Linked DNA regions of Homo sapiens: all the other regions are linked to region 2. The links are contacts of gene promoters, found by promoter capture Hi-C in blood cells and fetal thymus (Javierre and others, 2016). All regions are on one chromosome and are shown on one strand. Each heading gives the region's core, a stretch centred on a gene start or on the middle of the fragment in contact. The rest is flanking DNA. Distances are from core to core; before and after follow the strand shown.

Region 1 (3,850 bases), core at 525-3,024, 140 kb before region 2:
CCAAATCTCATCTTGAATTGTAATCCCACATGTTAAGTGAGAGAGGGACCTCTAATCCCCATGTGACAAGGGAAGGAGGTGATTGAATCACGGGGGCAGTTTCTTTCATGCTATTCTCGTGATGGTGGGTGAGTTCTCACGAGATCTGATGGTTTTACAAGTGTTTGACAGTGTCTCCTTCACACACTTGCTCTCTCGCCTGCTCCATGTAAGACGTGACTGCTTCTCCTTCTGCCAGGATTCTAAATTTCCTGAGGCCTCCCCAGACCTGAAAAACTGTGAGTCAATTAAACATCTTTTCTTTATAAATTACCCAGTCCCGGCCAGGCACAGTGGCTCACACCTGTAATCCCAGCACTTTGGGAGGCCAAGGTGAGCAGATCACTTGGGGTCAGGAGTTCAAGACCAGCCTGGCCAACATGGTGAAACCCCATCTCTACTAAAAATACAAAAATTATCCGGGCGTTGTGGCGGCCGCCTGTAATTCCAGCTACTCAGGAGGCTGAGGCAGGATAATCGCTTGAACCTGAGAAGCAGAGGTTGCAGTGAGCCAAGGTTGCGCCACTGCACTCCAGCCTGGGCAACAGAGTGAGACTCCATCTCAAAAATAAATAAATAAATAACCCAGTCTGGGGCAGTTCTTTATAGCAGTGTGAAAATAGACTAATATAGGGAGCCTTTCCATGGTTGGCAAAGATAGGAAGGACTTTCCAGACCAAGGAAAATGCTTGAACAGATGTCTGGAGGTGTTGGAGGAATGGATACTGTTGGGTGAGATTGGAATGCAGGGAAAAGCTGGGGCAGGTTGGAGAGTCAGAGCTCAGAGGTGTGATGAGAAAGCCCTCTGGAGGCACACAGACTAGCTGCACAGCCTTGGGCAAGTCATTTCACTTCTCTCAGCTACAGTTTATTTATCTGTATAATGGGGATAATATAACCTACTTCATAAGATTGTTGTGAGAATTAAAAGATATATCAGATGTAAATCAGCCAGCATGGAGTCCGGCAAATACATGCTCACAAAATGTCAATTACTGGCACTGTTTCTACTGCTACTAATAAAAAGTGGGCTGTTCTTTTCTAAACCATGCGGCTTGAGTCACTGGAGTCAGCCAGCAGTGCTGCACTCCTATACCAGGTCAGGTCTTATGATTCCATTTAGAAAGATACTATCTGGTACAGGACGCTAATGGAAGAAAATGCACATGGCTGGCTTGCTTGGGGCTCTGCTGCCGTATTTTTCTGACGGTTATATCAGGCCAGCAGTGTGGCTCTTGACATCAGTAATGCATTCATTACTTTTTATTACACACCTATTTATTACAAACCTGCTATGTGTCAGGTACTGGATCCAATGTCTTAGTAAGAGTAGGTGAATAAAGCTGACAGGGAAGAGAGAAACAAATTCTTTTCAAAACTGACTTTGTAAATGTATTGGAAGCCATAATTTAACTGCGTACTATGACCCTGTACCTGGAAACTTGTTCGGGGTCTGGGGGGAGAGTTCTTTCTGTATGTCTCTATTATTGACATGTGAGTGCCTCAGGAGTAGCCACTGTGGGGACTGGGTCACTTTGTCCATTTGGACACTCGACAGGTATTTATGCACACCTACTATGTGCCCAGCAATATTCTATGCATTAGCTGGTCATTGAGATGTGAAGAGCTCTTTCAGGATGATAACGATTATCTCTAAAATGATCATTTTTGTTTTAGAAAGAATCAAGCCCACTTTCTCCTGCCTGTTCTTTCTCAGATAGACTTGGTAAGAGGAAGGGGGAAATGCATGCACCTGCATCGCTGTCAGTAAACTGCCGTTCAAGCAGCAACTTAAGCTGGAGTCAAATGCTACTCAGGAGTGATGGGCAGGGAAAGGGTTCGGGTGGGGTGGGGCGTTAGCTCCTGTTTTAGAGCTCTGGTTGTCTTTTTCTGTAGGGCGTGGGCTGGTTTCCCTAAAGGACAACTGCTGGACTCGTCCATCCAGGATGTCACATTTCACTCTCAGCTGACACAGTGATGGTGGTGGGGGGGAGTGGCGAATCCGTTCAAGGAAAAGGCAACTACTTACTTTCCCTACCCTATCCCCACACTTTGAAATCAGTATCTACAGGAGATAGTTTATCCCCTTATATTTATTTAGAGGAAAGATTTTCCTCAAACATGGTCAGAAGAAGACTAAAGAATAATAATGAAACTAATTTAATGGCCAGGTAGTAGCCATCATTTTGGAGAATTTATAATGTTCTAAGCAAATAGGTGCTTTTCATACATATCTCATTTAATCCTAACAACAATCTTGTCAAGTTCATGCTATCATTTCCATTTCACAGACAAGGAAAATTGAAACCAAGAGGATGGGTAAGTCCATGGTTACATAGTTGGTGAACAGAAAAGCTGGGAGTCTAACCTGTCTCTCTCAGGCTTCAGAGGGCATGGCCTCCACACCAGCACTCTCCTGGTGGAGGGGTTGATGCTGCCACGAGAGTCTCTTCTCCCCTTGATTTTTTCTCTTCTCTTCTCTTCCTTTCTTCCTCCTATCCCCTCCACCCATTTCTTAATGATTCTTTAATTAACCAAGCAAGGTTAGAAAACTTTGATGAGCTTCCTCTAGCAGTGGGGCCGTTTATCTTTTTTTCTTTTTTTTTTTTTTTTGAGGCAGAGTTTCGCTCTTGCTGCCCAGGCTGGAGGGCAATGGCGCAATCTCAGGTCACTTCAACCTCCACCTCCCGGGTTCAAGTGATTCTCCTGCCTCAGCCTCCCGAGTAGCTGGGATTACAGGCATGCGTCGCCACGCCCCGCTGATTTTGTATTTTTAGTAGAGATGGGGTTTCACCATGTTGGCCAGGCTGGTCTCAAACTCCTGGCCTCAGGTGATCCATTCGCCTCGGCCTTCCAAAGTGCTGGGATTACAGGCGTGAGCCACCACTCCCGGCAGGGGCCATTTATCTTTTTTTTATTTTTTTGAGACAGAGTCTTGCCCTGTTGCCCAGACTGGAGTGCAGTGGCACAACCTTGGCTCACTGCAACCTCTGCCTCCTGGGTTCAAGCAATTCTCCTGCCGCAGCCTCCCAAGTAGCTGGGACTGCAGGCACCCACCACCATGCCCAGCTAATTTTTGTAGAGTGGGGCCATTTATAATGAGGCACCGCCCTGGAGCTGCAAGGGTTAACTCTGGCCTGGTGTTCAGAGCCGAGTGCCTTGGCCTTGGGAGGCAGCTATGAGTCCTCCTTTCTAATTAAAAATCGTCACCACTGGCTTTCATCCCATGCTAACGAGAAGAGTGTATGTGAGTTTGTGCGCAGTGTGTGCATGGGTCTTTATCTCTACTTCCTGTTTCATATTTAATTTGACAATTTTTTCCAGTTTGTGGATGTGGAACACGTGTAAGGTTGGGAGCATCGTCTGTTAGTAATCATTACCGCATTTTGGGGCTGGCTTGCTCCCACTGAGCCTGACCAAAGTCTTGTGGATTATGATCTTCCCGCCTCCTGAAATTGCTTTGTCCTGATCACCCTGGTTCCTGAAGGGACTGCCTTCAGGGCAGCAGTTTTGCCTTGGAAACTTTTCCAGAAGTGCTGGGATGATTCTTGTGTGTCAGGGAGAGGGGAGGTGGTACAGAAGCCCGATTTGGTAGATAAAGAACTGCAAGCTCTGGAAAACACAGCCTCCCACACCCTCCACAGTAGTTGTTTGGATTGGGGTGAACCGTAGCTCCAGCCTTTGGGTCATCCTTCATCCAGGCTGGATGAGGACATGGTTAGTCTGTGTTCACTTCTGCCTTTTCTCCAAAGTCTGGGGCCCAAACCCATCTGGACTGGACTCTCAGACCCAGCCTGCCCCCTGCTCAGCA
Region 2 (4,024 bases), core at 1,237-3,736:
CACCTGTCCACAGCCTCTGCCCTACTATGTGTTCTGTCTCCTCCCACCAGCCCCCAACTAAAGCTTCAGTGAGATGAGGCCATTTCAGAGGGTGATCTGGAAAAGGTCATGGAGCTGGGCAGGAGGGCTAAGGGCAAGAGGGCATTTACACTCCACTGAAAGGGAGTGACTCCTGATAACCAACAGATGCCTTTAAAGTCTGCTCACTGTAACTGACCAATATTTGTCCATGAAGATTTCAGAAATCTGCTACTAAAATCCCCACCCTACACCCGTACTGGCCACATGGCGTGGTTGGTAAGTGTGTGTGCTGTTCACCACATTAGGATTTGCTGGAGCCTCGCAGCACGTGAGAACCCTCCCAAGAGATGGGAAAGAGGAAATGTGATTTCACACTGGACATCTCCACTAGTTCTTTCCCACCCTTCTGGGAGACAGAGAGGGAGAGAGAAAGAGAAATCTTTAACTGCAGCCCTGCCTCTCCTAGCTCTCCTGACACCCGCCCTAAAAAAAAAAAAAAAAAGGCTGAAAATTTCAGAGATGTTTATGCTCCATTTGTGTGAAGATCTGGAGAACTCCAAACATTGTGAAATCCACCAGTGCAATATTGGGTAGGGCCTCAGGCCAGACTGAGCTCATTAAGAGATTGATAAACCCGCAGTTCCCAACTTCTCTGAGCCTTATACCTTCCAGCTTTGAATCCCGAGAGACTTGTCAGGGAGGTTAGTGCCTCGGTCAGCTACAGACACAGACGAGTGCTTGCTCCCGCCCCTCTGCAAGTTCTTTGGCCTCCAGTGTGTCTGGCCTCTCCCAAAACTGGAGAGAATCACGCCACTGATTTGGAGGCAGGAAAGAAGGGGATGCCACTAGGTTTGGGCACCCCACTGTACACTCTTCTTTCCAGCACTAACCGCGCTGGGGGGTACGGAAGCCTTGCTGCGCCAGAAGGCGGCCTCCTGCCCTCACAGAGGCCTTGGCAATATGGATGCCCCTCCAGCAGCTGGTGAAAGAGGCAGCCAGCAGCTCCCTACTCTGCCTACCATCTAGCCCCTCCAGCCCATTTCGCCTCTCTTGCCCATCCTTCAGCCCTATAAGCCACGCAACCATTTTCTGTCTCCCCTGCCTCTCCTGCCCACAACCCCCTGCCCCCAATCAAGGAGAATTGAGAAACCGTCTTCTTGCACAAGAGCAGCTACTGTCTAAATGCTTTTTGATCGTCTGCATGGAGGGGGAACTGGGCACAGCCCTGGACCCAGTGATGGAGCCAAGCTCTAGCTGCCCTGGCTAGCCAAACCCGCCCTCACCCAGCTCACTGTCCCCGGGGTCTTGGCGATTCAGAATTTGTCAGAACATACCGTCTCTATCCTCTTCTCTGTGATGTCAAGCCTGGTACCACCAAGAAGGAAGGAGGGAAAGCAGGAGCCTTATCTCTCCTACATTCGCAACCTCTTCCTCCAGCTCCCACACGCCTGGTGTTATGTAAACGCACCTTCAACCCCCACCGCAGCCCTAGCGCGGCCTGGGGGCTCCGGGGCCTGGCACAGCTCGGTGCCCGAGGATAGGGAGGTACAGGGTGGCCGAGGAGCCTCAGGCCTTACAGAGGCCAGGCAAGAAAAAGTCAACTGCAAGGCAGTTGCATAGCATAAAATGCGGCAGCGGAGCAAAGGTCAGACGGCGAGGAACCGCCTCGCCAAGGAGAGGGAGTAGGAATGCCCAGTCCTGAGCCAGCCCCTCGCTGACCATCGAGGGAGAGGCAGAAGGGGAGGGAATTCAGTCCGTCACGGCTCCGAAGAGAAAGAAAAAATCTACGTCGAGCATAGGCCGCTACGGCGGGCTGGGAGATACACGGCAAAGCTGGCACCGTGGGCACCGAGCTGGGAGGTGGGCGAGCCGCCCAGAGCGAGGGCGCCCCCCGACCCAAACGGTGGCTCCTGACCAAGCCCAGAGACGCCCGTTCCAGCGTTCGAGGCGGATGGTGGCAGGAGAAGGAAAGAGGCCAGGCCAGAGGCAAACTCCCGGGACACGCACGGGGCTTCCCGAGTCTCAGAGGGCGGGGAAGCCGGGCTTGGCAATGCCCAGGGGTCGGAAACGGCGGTGCCAGGCTGTGAACACCCCCGGCGCCGTGCCGGCCGGGCCGAGGGCGTCAGGGAGCTGCGGCGCACCGCAGCGACTCAAGGAGGCGCAGGCTGAGGGAAGGAACACTGAGGCGCGCCTAGAAATAGCGCACCATTTGCCCCAGCCCAAGGGGGGAGTCGCGTCGCGGCTCAGAGAGGGGCAGTTTCAGATCTCCAAACCAGCCATGGACTTACTTTGAGGAGCTGCAGGGTCACAAGCATCGCCCCACGTCTGTGTAAATCCTGAAGCCGGGGCAGGTTAGCCGCCGCTGTACTCGCAGACGCCGGTCGGAGGAACCGGCAAGGCTCCCTGCGCTCCACAGCGCCAGCTCCGCGCTGTCAGCTCAGCTCGCTACCTCCGCGGCGATGTTGCAACCACTGCCTGGGAAAATGGCTTTTTTATGAATGGGAGGGAAGGGAGCGCCAGTGCGCACGCGTGCCGTTCGCGATTCTATGAATGGGTGGGCACAACAGACCCTGAGCGCGCATGCGCTCCGCTCCTTTTTTTATGAATGGGGGGCGGGAAAAGATCTTAACCCGTGATTGCTGGGACTGGCTCAAGCTCCACCAGGAGCCGTCGTTCTTTTACAAAGAGGGGTGGAGGTTCCAGTGGAGGCTGTTGTTGCCTTTTTTTTTTTTTTTTTAATGAATGGAGGGCGGCGGCGACTGCTGCAGCTGGGCCAGCTGCGCGGGCTGCACCCCCTCCCAGCCTGCGAGAGGAGGTAAAGGCCACCTTCACGCCACTGCGGGCCTGGGCAGGAACCGTCAGTGTCGCTGGGGGGTGGGGGACGCTGCGGCCTCCGGATCCCGGGTTGAGAGCAGGGTGGTGGAGGGCACACCTAGATCTGGGGATCTCTGCCCCCCGCAGGCAGTCAAAAGGGGGGGCGGGAGGACCCCTACTGGGGGCCTTCTCTTGCTCTAGACCAGAGACGCCAGGCGGGAGGGGTCTTGAAGCTGCGTTTACCAAAAATTAGGAAAATGTCCATCATTCATATCAAAGGGTGGGGTGAGGATTGGTGAGTGAATCTGGTTCTTTTTCCTGAGGCTGAATCTCTCGTGAGTGCTGGCCGCCCCTCCCCCCATTTCTTGGGTGTAGACAGTGACTGGGCCCAGGCCTCTTCCGGCTCCAGTACCCCCCGGGGCGATTCTGGCAACTCAGCCAGAGGAAGCCTGGCCCTCGCCTCCCAGCGTTCCCCCCGCCCCCCGCCCCAGTGCAATGTCCGCAGTGCCCGGGCGTCTGCCCGCTCTCTGTCGCCCTAGCTAGGTGTCCTTTCTCTGTCCCAGTCGGTTTCCCAGCCCTCACAGGACGCTGGCCTGAGGAGCCTCGGTCCACCGAAGGCCCACGGCCCTTCGCTGTTGTAGGCGCCTTTCCCCAATATCCCCCACCTCTCACCGGCCTCCCCTCCGGGGAAGTGGGAGCGGCCGAGAACTGGCCAGGTGGATGGGTGGAGCCGGCTGCGCCGAGGATGCTGCCGGGGTGGCCTCAGGATTAAATAACAACGGGGCTCTTGAGCCGCAGAGGAAATGGAAATGGCTGGGGATCCTTTCTTCGCTGTTAATGATGGTGGCGTTGGGGGGCGGGGGTGAGGATCAGCTCAAGCCGGTGAAAAGAAAAGCCCCCGCCATTAGGCCTGACTCCAGGAAGGCGGGGAGCCCTCGCAGCAGGCCCTGCTCCTCCCTGGAACGGAGGAGCCTGTAGCCTCCGGGAAGTCCGGGGCGGGGGGTGGCTTTGATGCGTGGATAAGAGCAGAGTCTGGGCCAGGGCTTGGCCCTGAGTCCCTTGTAAGGTCTGTCTTGCCGCTGTTCTGGCCGCACGGGGAGATTGTGTGGCAGTCTTTTTCTTCCTACGCCACTATAGGATTGTGCTTGGCTGTTGTCAGAGGAACCAATGAAAGGCTCCCAGCCCAGGG
Region 3 (3,902 bases), core at 1,004-3,503, 140 kb after region 2:
GCTCCTGGCTTGATATGGCATGAATACTTGCAAGACACGTCAAATATGAAGACTGCATATATTATCTAGAAATGAAATGTCATTCTGTCAAATGAAATGACAGAACCATATGGCAAGTGGGACGGCACAGGTAGATCTGCAAAAACCAGAAGGTTGGTTGAGAGTAGGCAGAGGACCAAGACTGTGAGGCTAGTAACCTGCTCTCATTGTGGGGTGACTTCTGTCAGCCATGAATGTGGACAGTTGTTCAGCTTGAGAAATTCATATTTGGTAGCTACACTGTGGAAAATCACTGTGCATCATCAGGCAGTGAGGAAAGAAGGTACCAGAATGGTTATAATCCTAGACCTTGTAATCAGACAACCTCCAGGACTTTCTGAAGGCTAGTTATAATTTCTCCAAGCCTCAGTTTCCTTATCTGTAAAGGTGGATAAAAATAGTACTGATATGGTTTGGCTGTGTCCCCACCCAAATCTCATCTTGGGCCAATACAAGTACCTACCTGTTAGGGCTTTCAAAAGGACTAAATGAGGCCAGGTGCACTGACTCACACCTATAATCCCAGCACTTTGGGAGGCTGAGACAGGAGGATGGCTTGAGCCCAGGAGTTCAAGACTAGCCTGGGCAACATAAAAGACCTTGTCTCTACAAAAAATAAAAAAATTGACCTGGCACAGTGTCATGTGCCTCTGGTCCCAGCTACTTGGGAGGCTCAGGTGGGAGAATCATCTGAGTTCAGGAGGTTGAGGCTGCAGTGAGCTATGATCACACCACTGCACTGCAGCCTGGGTGATGGTGAGGCCCTGTCTTAAAAAAAAAAAGACTAAATGAAGAAATGCCTGGAAAGGGCTTAGATCATGGTAAGTGCTTATTAAATGTTAGTTATAATTATCACAGTTAAGCAATATAATTTGTGTCCTTATAAGGAAGAACATTCAGTTTCTCATGTCAGAATAGACAGTGAAGAAGGAAATAAACAGAACACAGGTGCACTTAAATGGATTTTGACCAAAATCTTGCAGAAGAGAGCCTAGGAGAGTTTTCAAGCTATGTTAGAAGTGTTTATCAATTCAGAAGCGAGATTGAGTGACATGGGTCTGGGAAGGTTGAAAGGGAGGAAAAAAAAGAAAATGAATTTTATATCCCTGTTATCTTGACTGTCAGTAGCCTGTGTAAAGCACCCATTGTGTGCAGTGTGCCCCATTAGATATATAGGATTGCACAGATATAGATGAGCTGACCTCTCCTCACATGGAGTTGACCATACATGTTGTCATGATCAGTAAAACAAGTGTAGTAATGATATAAGAACTAAACACAGCAAATGGGCAGGATCACAAATCTAGCACAGGCCTGACTGTATCCAGCTGAAGGCACATCACCTCAGGGACTTCATACATCTCTCTGATAAGTTGCATACCCGCTTCTTGTACTGTGCTTTTCTAGATGCTCTAGGAAATTCGCAGCCTTATCCCTGATTTTAGTGTTGTTTTGGAAGGTAACTGGGGAGCCTATTTAGGAAGCTTTGATGATAGTCCAGGTAATAGGAGATAAGCCCAAATGGGGACAGTGGGATTGGAGAACAGAGAGCAGGTGCAGAAGCTGGTGATATTACATTGGTAAATATCAGTAGGACCCAGCAAGAATGAGGGATAAAGGGGCACGTGCTGCAGTTCTAGCCTGGGTGACCACAGAGTCCTATTCGCAGAGCTTGGGAGACACTGGAGGAATTTGGACCAGTGGTTCTCATGTTCTATAGTGTTTAGGAGTCAACTTTGGAGATTGTTAATGCAGATTCCTAGGATCCACCGCAGGCCTACCGAATCTGAATCTCTAAAGTAGACCTGGAAATCTGCCTTTTTAGCAGGAACCCCAGAGGATTCTGATGCAGGTGGTCTGCAGATCACGCCTTGAAAAATGCTGGTCTAGAGAAAATAAACATCTTAGCTTTGGTCCTCCAGAAAGCAGAGTCGGAGGCAAGGACCCTGGTGCTAAAACTTCATCTGGGAGGTGAAATCGCAGGGTGAGGGTGTGTGGGGCACAGGGAGAGACAACGGGATACATGAATTTCTTTCATTTTCTTTTTTTTCTGCTGGCTATCATTTCCAAATAAGCCATGAAGGATCAAGCAGGTCACTCAGCATGCAGGGCTCTTCCAGACAATTTACTGGAGGAATCCGGCCTTAGCATAGCGGGAGAAAGAAGGAAACAGGAATCCAGCTCTTTCCCACTCTGCCCCTGCTCCTGTTTCTCATTGGTAAAGCACTCTTTGGGGGCTCAGGGTTGTATCACCCATCCTCTCAGTGGCCTCTCAGGAAGCTGGACCTCAGACCATTAGGGGTAGAGGGGCAACCAGGACAGATGGGATCCTGGCCTAGAGAGAAAGGAAGAAGGAAGCAGCGGAGGGTGTCTGAGAAGGTACACAGACTTGTTTCCAAAGAGAGTAAAGAAGTGACGCTGGGAAAGGTAGATTTTTTTTTTTCAGTTCTGTAAGTAATTACAGTTTTGAAGTTGAATAAGAAAGTAGGGAACTTGTCTAAATAGAGTTATATTAACAATGGGAATAAGAAAGGAAGCCTAGAATTTGTACCCATCATACATTTTCTTTAAATTTTTCTTTATTTGTATTCCTTTCTTCAGAACAACTTCCAGTAAAAGAAGGCACTGAGGTTTAAGTGCTACGTGGGAGCAGTTGCCGATTTTTGCAATGGGAGGCTGCATAGATTCAAGGTATCACTTGTTTATTTTATATCCTGAATTAACTTTCCACCTTCCCAGTCCAAAGTTCTAACAAAAGATTTCACTTGGACTAGAGAGCAAATGATTTTGTGACTCTCATCCAAAATCCCACAGCTTTTTCTCTGAAGACCTGTAAGTTCCTAAGACACTCTAAAAGGAATATAAAAATAATAATTGTAATTCTTAAGGAGTGCCAATTACATACTGGATTCCAGAGAGTAATAACTTTGCTTAAGGTTTACGTGAAGCTTTCCCTCTGTGTGTTACCAGAACTTGGCTAACATTATATGCTGGCAAATGGCATTAATCTGTCACAGAAATAGGGGGAATTTAGTCACAGGAAGTTTAAATAACTGATCATGTCCTACAAGGCATTGCCAAGAAATGGACAATTAGATTTACTTTCCACTACCATCCTGAACCATGTAAAAATATCTTGGGTGGCTGCGAGATCTGATTCTAGGAAGAAATATCCCTTGGCTCTCGTAAAGATGTTGATAACTCAGTTGTGAGAAATTGATTTTAGCGGGTGTGTGTGTGTGTGTGTATGCATGTTTGCTTGGGGACAGGGTGTAAAAAAAAATAGCTGTTTTTAATGCAGTCGAACTATGTGTGAGGATAGGTTAGAGGATGGGTGACGACGGATAGGTGATTCAGGGTTTCAGTAGAAGTTAAAGGATGGAGAAGTGAACAACGTGTAGATTCTTTTTTTTTTTTGAGATGGAGTCTCGCTCTGTCGCCCAGGCTGGAGTGCAGTGGTGCAATCTCGGCTCACTGCAAGCTCCACCTCCCAGGTTCATGCCATTCTCCTGCCTCAGCCTCCTGAGTAGCTGGAACTACAGGCGCCCACCACCACGCTCGGCTAATTTTTTGTATTTTTAGTAGAGACGGGGTTTCACCATGTTAGTCAGGATGTTTGCGATCTCCTGACCTCGTGATCTGCCCGCCTCGGCCTCCCAAAGTGCTGGGATTATAGGCGTGAGCCACCGTGCCCGGCCAACAATGTGTAGATTCTTAAGTGCCCATAGGTAATGTGGAATCAAGAAGTAAAGAAAAGTTTTGAGCAAAAAAGGAAAGGGCAAAATAGAGAATAGAAAGAAATGAGAAGGTAGTGTCAAGCAAAGAAACGGAAGGAGAGACAAACTGCTGTAGGAGGTGAAAGT

What was found. Contacts are between HindIII fragments. The CHiCAGO score rates a contact against its expected background, and 5 or more counts as called.
Region 1: a fragment that was not itself captured here is called in contact with the fragment with the promoter of SPRY4 in region 2 in 1 of 17 cell types (endothelial precursors); the score reaches 6.1 in endothelial precursors.
Region 3: a contact is called between a fragment that was not itself captured here and the fragment with the promoter of SPRY4 in region 2, in 1 of 17 cell types (endothelial precursors). The highest score is 5.1, in endothelial precursors.

The regions. Positions count from the first base shown.
Region 1 is chr5:142,181,867-142,185,716 of GRCh38, forward strand. The region is part of intron 1 of LOC107986455 (a long non-coding RNA gene); the gene reads right to left. Among named protein-coding and RNA genes, the nearest start is that of NDFIP1, 75 kb to the left of the region's middle. RefSeq lists enhancers at 2,438-3,334, 3,335-3,850. The HindIII fragment of the contact is 4,346 bases long and covers 1-3,850 here.
Region 2 is chr5:142,322,535-142,326,558 of GRCh38, forward strand. It overlaps SPRY4 (sprouty RTK signaling antagonist 4), which reads right to left and starts at 2,487. Exons shown (of 2, transcript NM_001127496.3): 1 at 2,310-2,487. It overlaps SPRY4-AS1 (SPRY4 antisense RNA 1), which reads left to right and starts at 2,759. Exons shown (of 4, transcript NR_120664.1): 1 at 2,759-2,836. RefSeq lists enhancers at 485-1,449, 1,450-2,412, 1,894-1,953. The HindIII fragment of the contact is 6,861 bases long and covers 62-4,024 here.
Region 3 is chr5:142,461,330-142,465,231 of GRCh38, forward strand. It overlaps SPRY4-AS1 (SPRY4 antisense RNA 1), which reads left to right. Exons shown (of 4, transcript NR_120664.1): 4 at 2,641-2,725. Among named protein-coding and RNA genes, the nearest start is that of SPRY4-AS1, 140 kb to the left of the region's middle. The HindIII fragment of the contact is 1,464 bases long and covers 1,522-2,985 here.